Regions from separate parts of the Homo sapiens genome. Here all the other regions are linked to region 3. Evidence: promoter capture Hi-C in 16 types of primary human blood cells and fetal thymus (Javierre and others, 2016). All regions are on one chromosome and are shown on one strand. Each heading gives the region's core, a stretch centred on a gene start or on the middle of the fragment in contact. The rest is flanking DNA. Distances are from core to core; before and after follow the strand shown. Region 1 holds the start of IKZF1 (IKAROS family zinc finger 1). Region 2 holds the start of HUS1 (HUS1 checkpoint clamp component). Region 3 holds the start of HNRNPA2B1 (heterogeneous nuclear ribonucleoprotein A2/B1).

What was found. The method cuts DNA at HindIII sites, captures the fragments that hold promoters and counts their contacts. A CHiCAGO score of 5 or more calls a contact.
Region 1: the fragment with the promoter of IKZF1 here is called in contact with the fragment with the promoter of HNRNPA2B1 in region 3 in 2 of 17 cell types (fetal thymus and activated CD4 T cells); the score reaches 12.2 in fetal thymus.
Region 2: a contact is called between the fragment with the promoter of HUS1 here and the fragment with the promoter of HNRNPA2B1 in region 3, in 1 of 17 cell types (total CD8 T cells). The highest score is 8.8, in total CD8 T cells.

Annotation. Positions count from the first base shown.
Region 1 is chr7:50,303,392-50,307,396 of GRCh38, reverse strand. It overlaps IKZF1 (IKAROS family zinc finger 1), which reads right to left and starts at 2,681. Exons shown (of 8, transcript NM_006060.6): 1 at 2,475-2,681. RefSeq lists a silencer at 2,569-3,368. The HindIII fragment of the contact is 6,071 bases long and covers 1-4,005 here.
Region 2 is chr7:47,977,737-47,981,729 of GRCh38, reverse strand. It overlaps HUS1 (HUS1 checkpoint clamp component), which reads left to right and starts at 2,115. Exons shown (of 8, transcript NM_004507.4): 1 at 2,115-2,262; 2 at 2,914-3,041; 3 at 3,137-3,313. The coding sequence starts at 2,211. RefSeq lists an enhancer at 2,045-2,334 and silencers at 2,405-2,464, 2,545-2,594. The HindIII fragment of the contact is 1,329 bases long and covers 1,610-2,938 here.
Region 3 is chr7:26,198,165-26,201,995 of GRCh38, reverse strand. It overlaps HNRNPA2B1 (heterogeneous nuclear ribonucleoprotein A2/B1), which reads left to right and starts at 1,250. Exons shown (of 11, transcript NM_002137.4): 1 at 1,250-1,424. The coding sequence starts at 1,419. It overlaps CBX3 (chromobox 3), which reads right to left and starts at 251. Exons shown (of 6, transcript NM_016587.4): 1 at 170-251. RefSeq lists a silencer at 1-366 and enhancers at 1,307-1,696, 862-1,834, 1,807-1,926, 1,835-2,808. The HindIII fragment of the contact is 8,290 bases long and covers 1-3,430 here.

The sequences.
Region 1 (4,005 bases), core at 1,432-3,931, about 24 Mb before region 3:
AAGGTCGTGGTTTACCTTCTGTAAGCTGGAGTGGAGCCACTTACATCAATCTCCCTTAGAATATGACAAGAACCAACATTTATTTCATAGTGAAATTATTTCACAAGTCCAAAGATTAGAGGAGGAAAAAAAAAATGCCACAAAACAGTGATATCCTTGATGAATTCTTCGTTAACCACAGTTACATTACATTAATACGTACAATTATGCAACACTCAAAAAACGTTATTTATGCCTAAAATTCACCATTATATAACATAGGGAAATCCATCTTGTTTTAGTAAAAGTTTAAAAATAAAGGGGGCCTTTAATACTCATTTCAGGTCTGTTTGATGTTAAAACTCTTCCACACTGCCCCATGCCTCTCACTCCACGCTGTGTGCATGCTGTGTGTGTGCACGCTCTGTGTGCATATGTGCATATGCACATGGAATTTATTTCATGTATCTGTTAATAAATGCATAATCTTGAAGTGTGTGTATAAGTACATTAATATATAGAGAGTTCTTTCCTATTTCAAAATTTTTGACATTTATATTGAAAATATGCTATATTAACCACGCATGAAACACACACATCCAAATCAAGAACAAAAAATGTATCCAAACCAAAGAACCACTGTTCTCAAACTCCAAGTCTCTAGTCAAACAAGGAAGACAGTGGCCTGCAGTACAACAGGGCTTTAGACCTCTTGGCTAATACATTCACTGCGATCTTAGTTTTTCGACAAAGGAAATGGCTACAAACGGCCACAGCTGATCTTCTCTTTAGGAGCCTGTGTAAAACTCTTCGAAAGGGTCAAACCTAACACATCCAGACTTTTATCTGCAGCCCTTGTGGTCTCCTGGAGACCCTGAGGGTGGGTGATTATTGCTATGATGTTTCTGCATTAGGGGGGTGTGTAGTTTTCCAAGAGGTACCACTCTAATTAGAACACTGATGAATTAAACAAGTACTGGAGAGTTTCTAAACTCCTTCCTTCAACTCTCACCGTGAAACAAAAGGGGAAGAAAACATGACCATTTAGTTCAATAAAATGTTCTGGTCACCAGCTCTGATTGACTGTGAGACTTAAGAGTCACGTTTTTTTTCATGTAAAAAATGTATGAAATATGTTCATGGTGAAATTGGAAATCAGATACATTCCATCAAGCAAGAATAGTGTAGTATTTTTAATGTGACATCATTATTTGTATGTGTACACATTATTTCTTTAACTTGTTCTGCATTTTACAAGATGCCAGCGTAAGAAGGTGAATCTTCTTGTCATGAATATTTGCCTCGTGTACATTTTAAGCCATAGCCCAAATGATCTGATTTGTCACGGAAATAATTCTGACACATTCTAATATAAATAATACTGAAATTGTTACTTTTTAAAATTCCATATAAAAGATGAGTACAATAAAACTCATTGAACAAACATCTTCAAACAAAGAAATAAACTCAAGAGGACCCAGGACATTTCTATGTGGGTCCCCCCCACCCCTCGACTCATAACCAAATTGAACCTGGCCTTAAAAGCATTTGAATGTCTATGAAAGTTTAAATATCATACGCAGTATTTTCAAATTCCATAAATTTTCCTCTTTTAACAGAAGTTGATGGGACTAGTAAGGAGACATTTCCTCAACACCATTTTGTCTGGAATTTTAAAACAAGGTATCTCAAAGCTGAAATATACTGCCTGCGGCGCAGTGGGAAATTGTGAGTGGGTAACCTAAGCAAAGCGCACCGCATTGAAATTCAGTCTGGGTGGGCTGCAGTCCCTAGAGAGAGGGAAGCTGCATTTGAAAGCTGTGCCTGGTCAGACCCTATGGAATCGCTACGGTTTTCGGTCATTAGATGCCTCCAAATTAGAAGGAAAAACAAGCCCTCACGAGGTTCCTTAGGCATCAGCAGCGATGCTTGACAAATATTTAAAATACATTTCAAATATAACCGCAAGTAACCTGATGCCTTAATATTACTAAGGGTTTTCCTGAGAAGGTTTGGTGACTTGAGCGTCAAACCTGCGGTCAGCAAAAGGACTAACTTTTCAAAGCCGGGATAATTCCTCTCTTGCAGAAATTAAGTTCAGACTCGATCTCATCATATTTATAGTATAAAAAGAAAGCTCCCGGCTCAAATATAAGGAAAACTCTTTACACACGACTTTATAAAGGCTGACTTCCGTGGGTATATGTAGGTCTACATAAATTTAAATATGGTTGGGAGCTAGAACTCCTCTCCTGGTGACAGCGGGGCTGCTCAGAAGTGTCCCATGTCGGCCTGGTCCTGCACCTGCTGGCACAGTGCAGAGCAACAGACGCTTGACAGAAGTGAACTCTCTCACTGTCCTCAGAAAAGAGAGGCGGACCTGAGCGACACCAGGGTCTACCAACCTTACCGCTTTTCTTTACTGTGTTTTTTTTTTTTTAAATTCACCAGTTACCCCAAGTTTTCCTATTGAAATTCAATTTGAAAACACTCACGTGGATTTGTGCGTCGCGCTTTGGGGCCAAGACTGATCCTCGGGTGCGAAGAGCAACCTCGGAGCCGGGGCTCCCTCTGCCCTGCCAGGCTTGCCCGCCTCGCCGCGGCCGAGCGTCCCGCCCAGGCTGGGATGCGCCGCGCGGGGACCCAGGGGGCTTGCCGCAGTCACCGCCCCGGGCGCGGGCCGCGCAGTCACTTGTTAGAGTGTCCTGCTAACTTGGCCGCGGAGCTCTTCCCAGCTTTCTTTCACAATGACTTCCTGAAGTTGCTCACTCGCATTGTTCCCCATTTCTCCGCCACACTCCCCGCCCCCAGCCGGCTCAGACCAGGCTTTCGCGCTCCCGGCCGACCGGCTGCCCCGCGCGCACAGCGCCGCCCGCGGGCCCCGTACCTGGCCCCCTCCGCGCCGGCCGCCCCCGCCGCGCCCTTGCGTTGCCACCAGCTGCCGCCCAGAGCGGCGGGTGGCCAGAGCGCGCGCCCTGCCACCCCGCAAACTTTGGGGTGACGCACGCTGGCGGTCCCTGCTCGACCTGCCCCGCAGCCGGCTCGGCCCCGCGCGCACCTCTCGGCCGCCTCCCGGATCGCTGCTCCGGTACAGGGAGCGGGGCGCGCAGAAGGGCGCAGAGCGGGACACGGAGAGGGTGCGTCGTCCCGTCCCCGCCCCGTCGCCGAGTCCCCCGGCTCGCGCGGCGCGCGTCTCAGCCGCAACTCCGGGCCAGAGGGGCCGCGCACGAAAACTTTGCAATCGCGCCGGGCTCCGGCTCAGCCCCCAAAGGCCGCCGGGGCGGCGGCGGGTGCGGGCCGTACCTGCTGGCGCCGCCGCCGGCTGCAGCCCGCTCGCCCGCGCCGGGCCCGCTCGGCGCGCCGCCGCCACCCCCGCGCGCACCGCGCCCGGGCCCTCCCCTCGCCGCCGCGCTTCCTCATTCCAGCGCAGCATCGCGCCGCGGCCCCGCACGGGATGCGGCGGCCGGCGCTGTGTCCGCGGGCCGGGCAGCCCGGCTCGGCCGCGGCGCTGCGGGACCCGCGCGTAACCCGTGGGGGCGCGGCGCGGGCGACACGTGCGGGCCGCCAGGAGGGGGAGGGGGACGCGCGCCGCCGGGCCCGCCACCCTGCACCCGGGGCCGCTGGTCGGTCGGGGCACCCTCACGCTCGCCCCGCTGGCGAGACTGGAGGGACTCGGGACATCGTAAAGCACTTTCCCCAGTGTCTGGGAGCGCCCGCTGTACGCTCAGCTTCACGTCCCTGGAACTGGGGCCCCTTGGCTCCCGGGTTCAGGCTCCGGCCCCAGGATGCGAGTGCCCACCCGAGGGGGTGGGAAAAGTTGATCCTCCGCAAGGGAGGGGAAGGTGCAATTCATTTTCCCAGACAACCAATGGAATACCTCTCGTCTCTCTTCCCTCCCACCTGCTCACGGCAGAAGTTAGGATGGCGCCTTCCATGTTGGCCTGGGTGCACACACAAGTGCGTGCGGAAGGGTGGCTGCAGGCGGAGGTGACAGCGAAGCAATCCCGCAGCCCGCTCGACGGCTCT
Region 2 (3,993 bases), core at 866-3,365, about 22 Mb before region 3:
GCGTGAACCCGGGAGGCGGAACTTGCAGTGAGCCGAGATTGCGCCACTGCACTCCAGCCTGGGCGACAGAGCGAGATTCCGTCTCCAAAAAAAAAAAGAGTTATGCCAACATTTTTTTTTTTTTTTGAGACGGAGTCTCGCTCTGTCGCCCAGGCTGGAGTGCAGTGGCAGACCTCTGTTCACTGAAATCTCCGCCTCCTGGGTTCAAGTGATTCTCCTGCCTCAGATTCCTGAGTAGTTGGGATTACAGGCACAAGCTATCACGCCGGGCTAATTTTTGTATTTTTAGTAGAGACGGGGTTTCATCATGTTGGCCAGGCTGATCTCAGACTCCTGACCTCAGATGATCCACCCGCCTCGGCCTCCCAGAATGCTGGGATTACAGGAGAGAGCCATCCTGCCCTGCCTGTTGGCATAACTTTGAAAGTGATCTATTAAGTTTGGTTTGGCAAACACTCGCATATGACAATGAAGATTAGAATTTTGCTTCATGTTATAGTCTTAAAATAGGCAAAAACTGCAATTTTTGTATTTTGCACCTTTTTATTATTATTACACTTTAAGTTCTAGGGTACATGTGCACAACGTGCAGATTTGTTACATAGGTATGCATGTGCCATGTTGGTGTGCTGCACCCATCAACTCATCATTTACATTAGGTATTTCTCCTAACGCTATCCCTCCCCCAGGCCTCCACCCCCCAACAGGCCCCAGTGTGTGATATTCCCCTCCCTGTGTCCATGTGTTCTCATTGTTCAACTCCCACTTATGAGTGAGAACATGCGGTGTTTGGTTTTCTGTCCTTGTGATATTTTGCTGAGAATGATGGTTTCCAGCTTCATCCATGTCCCTGCAAAGGACATGAACTCATCCTTTTTTATGGCTGCATAGTATTCCATGGTGTATATGTGCCACATTTTCCTTATCCAGTCTATTATTGATGGACATTTGGGATGGTTCCAAGTCTTTGCTATTGTGAATAGTGCCACAATAAACATATGTGTGCATGTGTCTTTGAAAATTATCTGGGCCTGGCGCGGTGGCTCACGCCTATAATCCCAGCACTTTGGGAGGCCGAGGTGGGCAGATCACCTGAGGTCAGGAGTTCGAGACCAGCCTGGCCAACATGGCGAAACCCCGTCTCTACTAATAATACAAAAATTAGCCGGGCATGGTAGCTTGTGCCTGTAATCCCAACTACTTGGGAAGCTGAGGCAGGAGAATCCCTCGAACCCGGGAGGTGGAGGTTGCAGTGGGCCAAGATCACGCCATTGCACTCCAGCCAGGGCGACAGAGCCAGACTCCGTCTCAAAATCATCATCATCATCATCTGCATTATCATTATCTTGATTCTATGTGTCAAGTTAAAGACAAGGTTCTAGTCTATTTGCAAAGGACATTAAAAATAACAATTGTTAACACAGATAATCTTTAGTCTTTGAAAAACCAAATTAGATACAATTGTTGCTTCATTTCCCCCTTTAAAATTTTTCCTTTAAAAAAAATCCTAATGACATTATTTATGCTAATAAGAATTTTATCGGATGTAATAAAGTTCGTCTTGAGGCAAACTGCAGAATTATCACTTAACGTCAGTGTTCTTTAAGCTTCCCGACTTTACCAACTAGCCAGTAATATGTTCAATTTTTTTAGAAGTCATTTGAAACAATTTTCAGAACCTTAATCCACCAAGATGCTTCAATACCAAAGTACCAGTACCGTCATCTGAGGCTGGAGGGTTTAAAGCTGCTCTACCTTAGGTATATTTAAGATAATATTGTTTAACCTTTATAAACGATTAATTTTATTTGGATATTTTAAAATAACACTTGAAATAGGTGTCACAAAATTCTTTCAAAACGTGAATTCTCAGAACAACCTCCCCGAATCTGGGGCTTGAAGCCTCCGCCTCACTAAAAGTAGATCCCACCATTACCCGGCAGCGCGGAGGCATACCCGGAGACTGGGACCCCCACCTCCCCCGGGGCGTGACCTGTGATCCTTGACCCGTGACCCCACCTCCTCTAGGGCGTGACCCCCTAGCCCCACCTCCTCCGGGGCGTGGCCCGGAGATAACCCTGGTAAGAGTCGCGTAGCCCGAGCCGGGCGGAACCACTGTTCGCGCTGCCGTGTTTCCGGGCGGGGACACTCAGGGCGCGACGCTTTTCTGTTACCCACAGAGGCCCGCCGCGGCTGCGCCATCCGCGGCCATGAAGTTTCGGGCCAAGATCGTGGACGGGGCCTGTCTGAACCACTTCACACGTGAGCAGGGAGGCCGGAGAGGAGCGAGGGAGGAACGGAAGGAAGCAGTGAGCGCGCGGTGGGGACCGCGCAGGAGGATCAGAACGGGGATGGGCGCCGGAAGGGGCCGCGGGAGGATGGGGCCGGGATGGGGGTGCTGGTGTAGGCCGCGGGAGGGTGGGGCCGGGAGGGCGCGGGGCGGGTCGGAGGGCACTTGTGGGGATGAAGGCGGCTTTCAAGGGACGTTTCTGAAACTTGATTCCGATCACGTGGCTTTAAAAAAAAGCGGCCACTGCTCCCATAGACGGCTTTATCAGGCATTGACATACCTTCAAGGCCCCATTCGTCCCTCCACCCTGACAGTGCCTAACCTTGCATTTAACTGTGTATTGCAGTACCTAGTAGTCAATAAATCCATGTTGAATGAATGAATGACTGGTAGGTGCCTGTTTTCTTATTTGAACACTGATGATGTGTGCTGTACATCTCCCCTAGTTTGTTGGGAGAATTGCGTGACATCAGGGGTATTAAAGTACTTTCCAGTGTGATACCAACGTTAAGTGGTTATTTTTCCACCGAGAAGTTGATGAACAAGAAATTCTGCAAAATAAGTTGGTCTCTAGGATACATAATGTGCATTTTAGTAATTCCTTATTTTAACCCCTGCTTTAGGAATCAGTAACATGATAGCCAAGCTTGCCAAAACCTGCACCCTCCGCATCAGCCCTGATAAGCTTAACTTCATCCTTTGTGACAAGCTGGCTAATGGAGGAGTGAGCATGTGGTGTGAGCTGGAACAGGTGAGCAAAAGCTTCTGAGAGGCCTGCACACTCTGCAGATTGTCACTGGAAAGATCACATATACCCTCCCTCATCCCTCATTTTTTTTCCCTTAGGAGAACTTCTTCAACGAATTTCAAATGGAGGGTGTCTCTGCAGAAAACAATGAGATTTATTTAGAGCTAACATCGGAAAACTTATCTCGAGCCTTGAAGACTGCCCAGAATGCCAGGGCTTTGAAAATCAAACTGACTAATAAACACTTTCCCTGCCTCACGGTCTCCGTGGAGCTGGTGAGTAGGAGAGTCAGGGTTTCTAACACAGAAGTCTTGGCCTCGAAGGAATAGACATAGTTAGCCTAGCCTTTTTAACAATAAATACTGTTGAAAGCTGTTTGGTTTATTTAAATTTAAAGATCTGGTCCATAACTATATTTTGCATTAGAGTCAGTTCCTCCTCATTTTAAAATTGTGTTGTTATCATATGCATTCAGCTAGAATGCTGCTTTTTCCAAGCCGTGAAACTTCCAGCCTCTCTGTTTCTTGTAGTGGTATTGTCACCTTGTCTAGAAATCATGGTTTCTCTATCCATTTTCACCTTTGACATGTTTTCTCCCCACTCCCACCCTGCCTCATCTGCTATAATAACCTTTAAATGGCCCCTCGTTCTTCAGTACACGTATGTTTTATATGCTACTGCCAGATGAATTTAGTGCACAGCTGTCCTCCAAACACACAAATACACAAACTCATGCGCATACATACAATCCAGAGTTGCTCTTCCTACTCATAGAATGAGGTTCGTATTTCCTTTTTTTTGAGACGGAGTCTCTCTATCACCCAGGCTGGAGTGCAGTGGCGCGATCTCGGCTCACTGCAACCTCCATCTCCCGGGTTCAAGCGATTCTCATGCCTCAGCCTCCTGAGTAGCTGGAATTACAGGCACCCACCACCACACCCAGCTAATTTTTGTA
Region 3 (3,831 bases), core at 1-2,500:
AGGCCAGCCGCGAGGCCACCGCCCGACCCTCCACTCCTTCCCGCAGCTCCCGGCGCGGGGTCCGGCGAGAAGGGGAGGGGAGGGGAGCGGAGAACCGGGCCCCCGGGACGCGTGTGGCATCTGAAGCACCACCAGCGAGCGAGAGCTAGAGAGAAGGAAAGCCACCGACTTCACCGCCTCCGAGCTGCTCCGGGTCGCGGGTCTGCAGCGTCTCCGGCCCTCCGCGCCTACAGCTCAAGCCACATCCGAAGGGGGAGGGAGCCGGGAGCTGCGCGCGGGGCCGCCGGGGGGAGGGGTGGCACCGCCCACGCCGGGCGGCCACGAAGGGCGGGGCAGCGGGCGCGCGCCCGGCGGGGGGAGGGGCCGCGCGCCGCGCCCGCTGGGAATTGGGGCCCTAGGGGGAGGGCGGAGGCGCCGACGACCGCGGCACTTACCGTTCGCGGCGTGGCGCCCGGTGGTCCCCAAGGGGAGGGAAGGGGGAGGCGGGGCGAGGACAGTGACCGGAGTCTCCTCAGCGGTGGCTTTTCTGCTTGGCAGCCTCAGCGGCTGGCGCCAAAACCGGACTCCGCCCACTTCCTCGCCCCTGCGGTGCGAGGGTGTGGAATCCTCCAGACGCTGGGGGAGGGGGAGTTGGGAGCTTAAAAACTAGTACCCCTTTGGGACCACTTTCAGCAGCGAACTCTCCTGTACACCAGGGGTCAGTTCCACAGACGCGGGCCAGGGGTGGGTCATTGCGGCGTGAACAATAATTTGACTAGAAGTTGATTCGGGTGTTTCCGGAAGGGGCCGAGTCAATCCGCCGAGTTGGGGCACGGAAAACAAAAAGGGAAGGCTACTAAGATTTTTCTGGCGGGGGTTATCATTGGCGTAACTGCAGGGACCACCTCCCGGGTTGAGGGGGCTGGATCTCCAGGCTGCGGATTAAGCCCCTCCCGTCGGCGTTAATTTCAAACTGCGCGACCGTTTCTCACCTGCCTTGCGCCAAGGCAGGGGGCGGGACCCTATTCCAAGAGGTAGTAACTAGCAGGACTCTAGCCTTCCGCAATTCATTGAGCGCATTTACGGAAGTAACGTCGGGTACTGTCTCTGGCCGCAAGGGTGGGAGGAGTACGCATTTGGCGTAAGGTGGGGCGTAGAGCCTTCCCGCCATTGGCGGCGGATAGGGCGTTTACGCGACGGCCTGACGTAGCGGAAGACGCGTTAGTGGGGGGGAAGGTTCTAGAAAAGCGGCGGCAGCGGCTCTAGCGGCAGTAGCAGCAGCGCCGGGTCCCGTGCGGAGGTGCTCCTCGCAGAGTTGTTTCTCGAGCAGCGGCAGTTCTCACTACAGCGCCAGGACGAGTCCGGTTCGTGTTCGTCCGCGGAGATCTCTCTCATCTCGCTCGGCTGCGGGAAATCGGGCTGAAGCGACTGAGTCCGCGATGGAGGTAACGGGTTTGAAATCAATGAGTTATTGAAAAGGGCATGGCGAGGCCGTTGGCGCCTCAGTGGAAGTCGGCCAGCCGCCTCCGTGGGAGAGAGGCAGGAAATCGGACCAATTCAGTAGCAGTGGGGCTTAAGGTTTATGAACGGGGTCTTGAGCGGAGGCCTGAGCGTACAAACAGCTTCCCCACCCTCAGCCTCCCGGCGCCATTTCCCTTCACTGGGGGTGGGGGATGGGGAGCTTTCACATGGCGGACGCTGCCCCGCTGGGGTGAAAGTGGGGCGCGGAGGCGGGAATTCTTATTCCCTTTCTAAAGCACGCTGCTTCGGGGGCCACGGCGTCTCCTCGGCGAGCGTTTCGGCGGGCAGCAGGTCCTCGTGAGCGAGGCTGCGGAGCTTCCCCTCCCCCTCTCTCCCGGGAACCGGATTTGGCGGCCGCCATTTTCATGGCTCGCCTTCCTCTCAGCGTTTTCCTTATAACTCTTTTATTTTCTTAGTGTGCTTTCTCTATCAAGAAGTAGAAGTGGTTAACTATTTTTTTTTCTTCTCGGGCTGTTTTCATATCGTTTCGAGGTGGATTTGGAGTGTTTTGTGAGCTTGGATCTTTAGAGTCCTGCGCACCTCATTAAAGGCGCTCAGCCTTCCCCTCGATGAAATGGCGCCATTGCGTTCGGAAGCCACACCGAAGAGCGGGGAGGGGGGGTGCTCCGGGTTTGCGGGCCCGGTTTCAGAGAAGATATCACCACCCAGGGCGTCGGGCCGGGTTCAATGCGAGCCGTAGGACAAAGAAACCATTTTATGTTTTTCCTGTCTTTTTTTTCCTTTGAGTAACGGTTTTATCTGGGTCTGCAGTCAGTAAAACGACAGATGAACCGCGGCAAAATAAACATAAATTGGAAGCCATCGGCCACGAGGGGCAGGGACGAAGGTGGTTTTCTGGGCGGGGGAGGGATATTCGCGTCAGAATCCTTTACTGTTCTTAAGGATTCCGTTTAAGTTGTAGAGCTGACTCATTTTAAGTAATGTTGTTACTGAGAAGTTTAACCCTTACGGGACAGATCCATGGACCTTTATAGATGATTACGAGGAAAGTGAAATAACGATTTTGTCCTTAGTTATACTTCGATTAAAACATGGCTTCAGAGGCTCCTTCCTGTAATGCGTATGGATTGATGTGCAAAACTGTTTTGGGCCTGGGCCGCTCTGTATTTGAACTTTGTTACTTTTCTCATTTTGTTTGCAATCTTGGTTGAACATTACATTGATAAGCATAAGGTCTCAAGCGAAGGGGGTCTACCTGGTTATTTTCTTTGACCCTAAGCACGTTTATAAAATAACATTGTTTAAAATCGATAGTGGACATCGGGTAAGTTTGGATAAATTGTGAGGTAAGTAATGAGTTTTTGCTTTTTGTTAGTGATTTGTAAAACTTGTTATAAATGTACATTATCCGTAATTTCAGTTTAGAGATAACCTATGTGCTGACGACAATTAAGAATAAAAACTAGCTGAAAAAATGAAAATAACTATCGTGACAAGTAACCATTTCAAAAGACTGCTTTGTGTCTCATAGGAGCTAGTTTGATCATTTCAGTTAATTTTTTCTTTAATTTTTACGAGTCATGAAAACTACAGGAAAAAAATCTGAACTGGGTTTTACCACTACTTTTTAGGAGTTGGGAGCATGCGAATGGAGGGAGAGCTCCGTAGAACTGGGATGAGAGCAGCAATTAATGCTGCTTGCTAGGAACAAAAAATAATTGATTGAAAATTACGTGTGACTTTTTAGTTTGCATTATGCGTTTGTAGCAGTTGGTCCTGGATATCACTTTCTCTCGTTTGAGGTTTTTTAACCTAGTTAACTTTTAAGACAGGTTTCCTTAACATTCATAAGTGCCCAGAATACAGCTGTGTAGTACAGCATATAAAGATTTCAGCTCTGAGGTTTTTCCTATTGACTTGGAAAATTGTTTTGTGCCTGTCGCTTGCCACATGGCCAATCAAGTAAGCTTCAGCTTTCAGTAATTGTTATCTTAGAGATTATGCCACGTGAATGTATTTTATTGTACATATGGTTAAGCTGAGTAATTCATATTCTGTATTGTCATATATCAAATATAGACATGTCCACCAAAAATTAAACTTTTTAAGCTTCGAGTGCTGCTGGTCATAAAAATTAATTTGTCCTGGTTATAAGAGTAATTTTTAAGGTTATTTCTAATGCATATCTTTAAATATTTTCGTAACTGAGAGTCATATGGAGAAACTTAGTGTTTGTTGTAAAAAGTTGTGTTTTTTTGGCTGAGATACTTAGAATCACCACCAGAGGGGGCAGTTAAGGGAAAATAAATGATACTTTTCAGATATTGAATAGTGAAATAAAAACTTTGGGTCATAAGTAATGAACCAAGA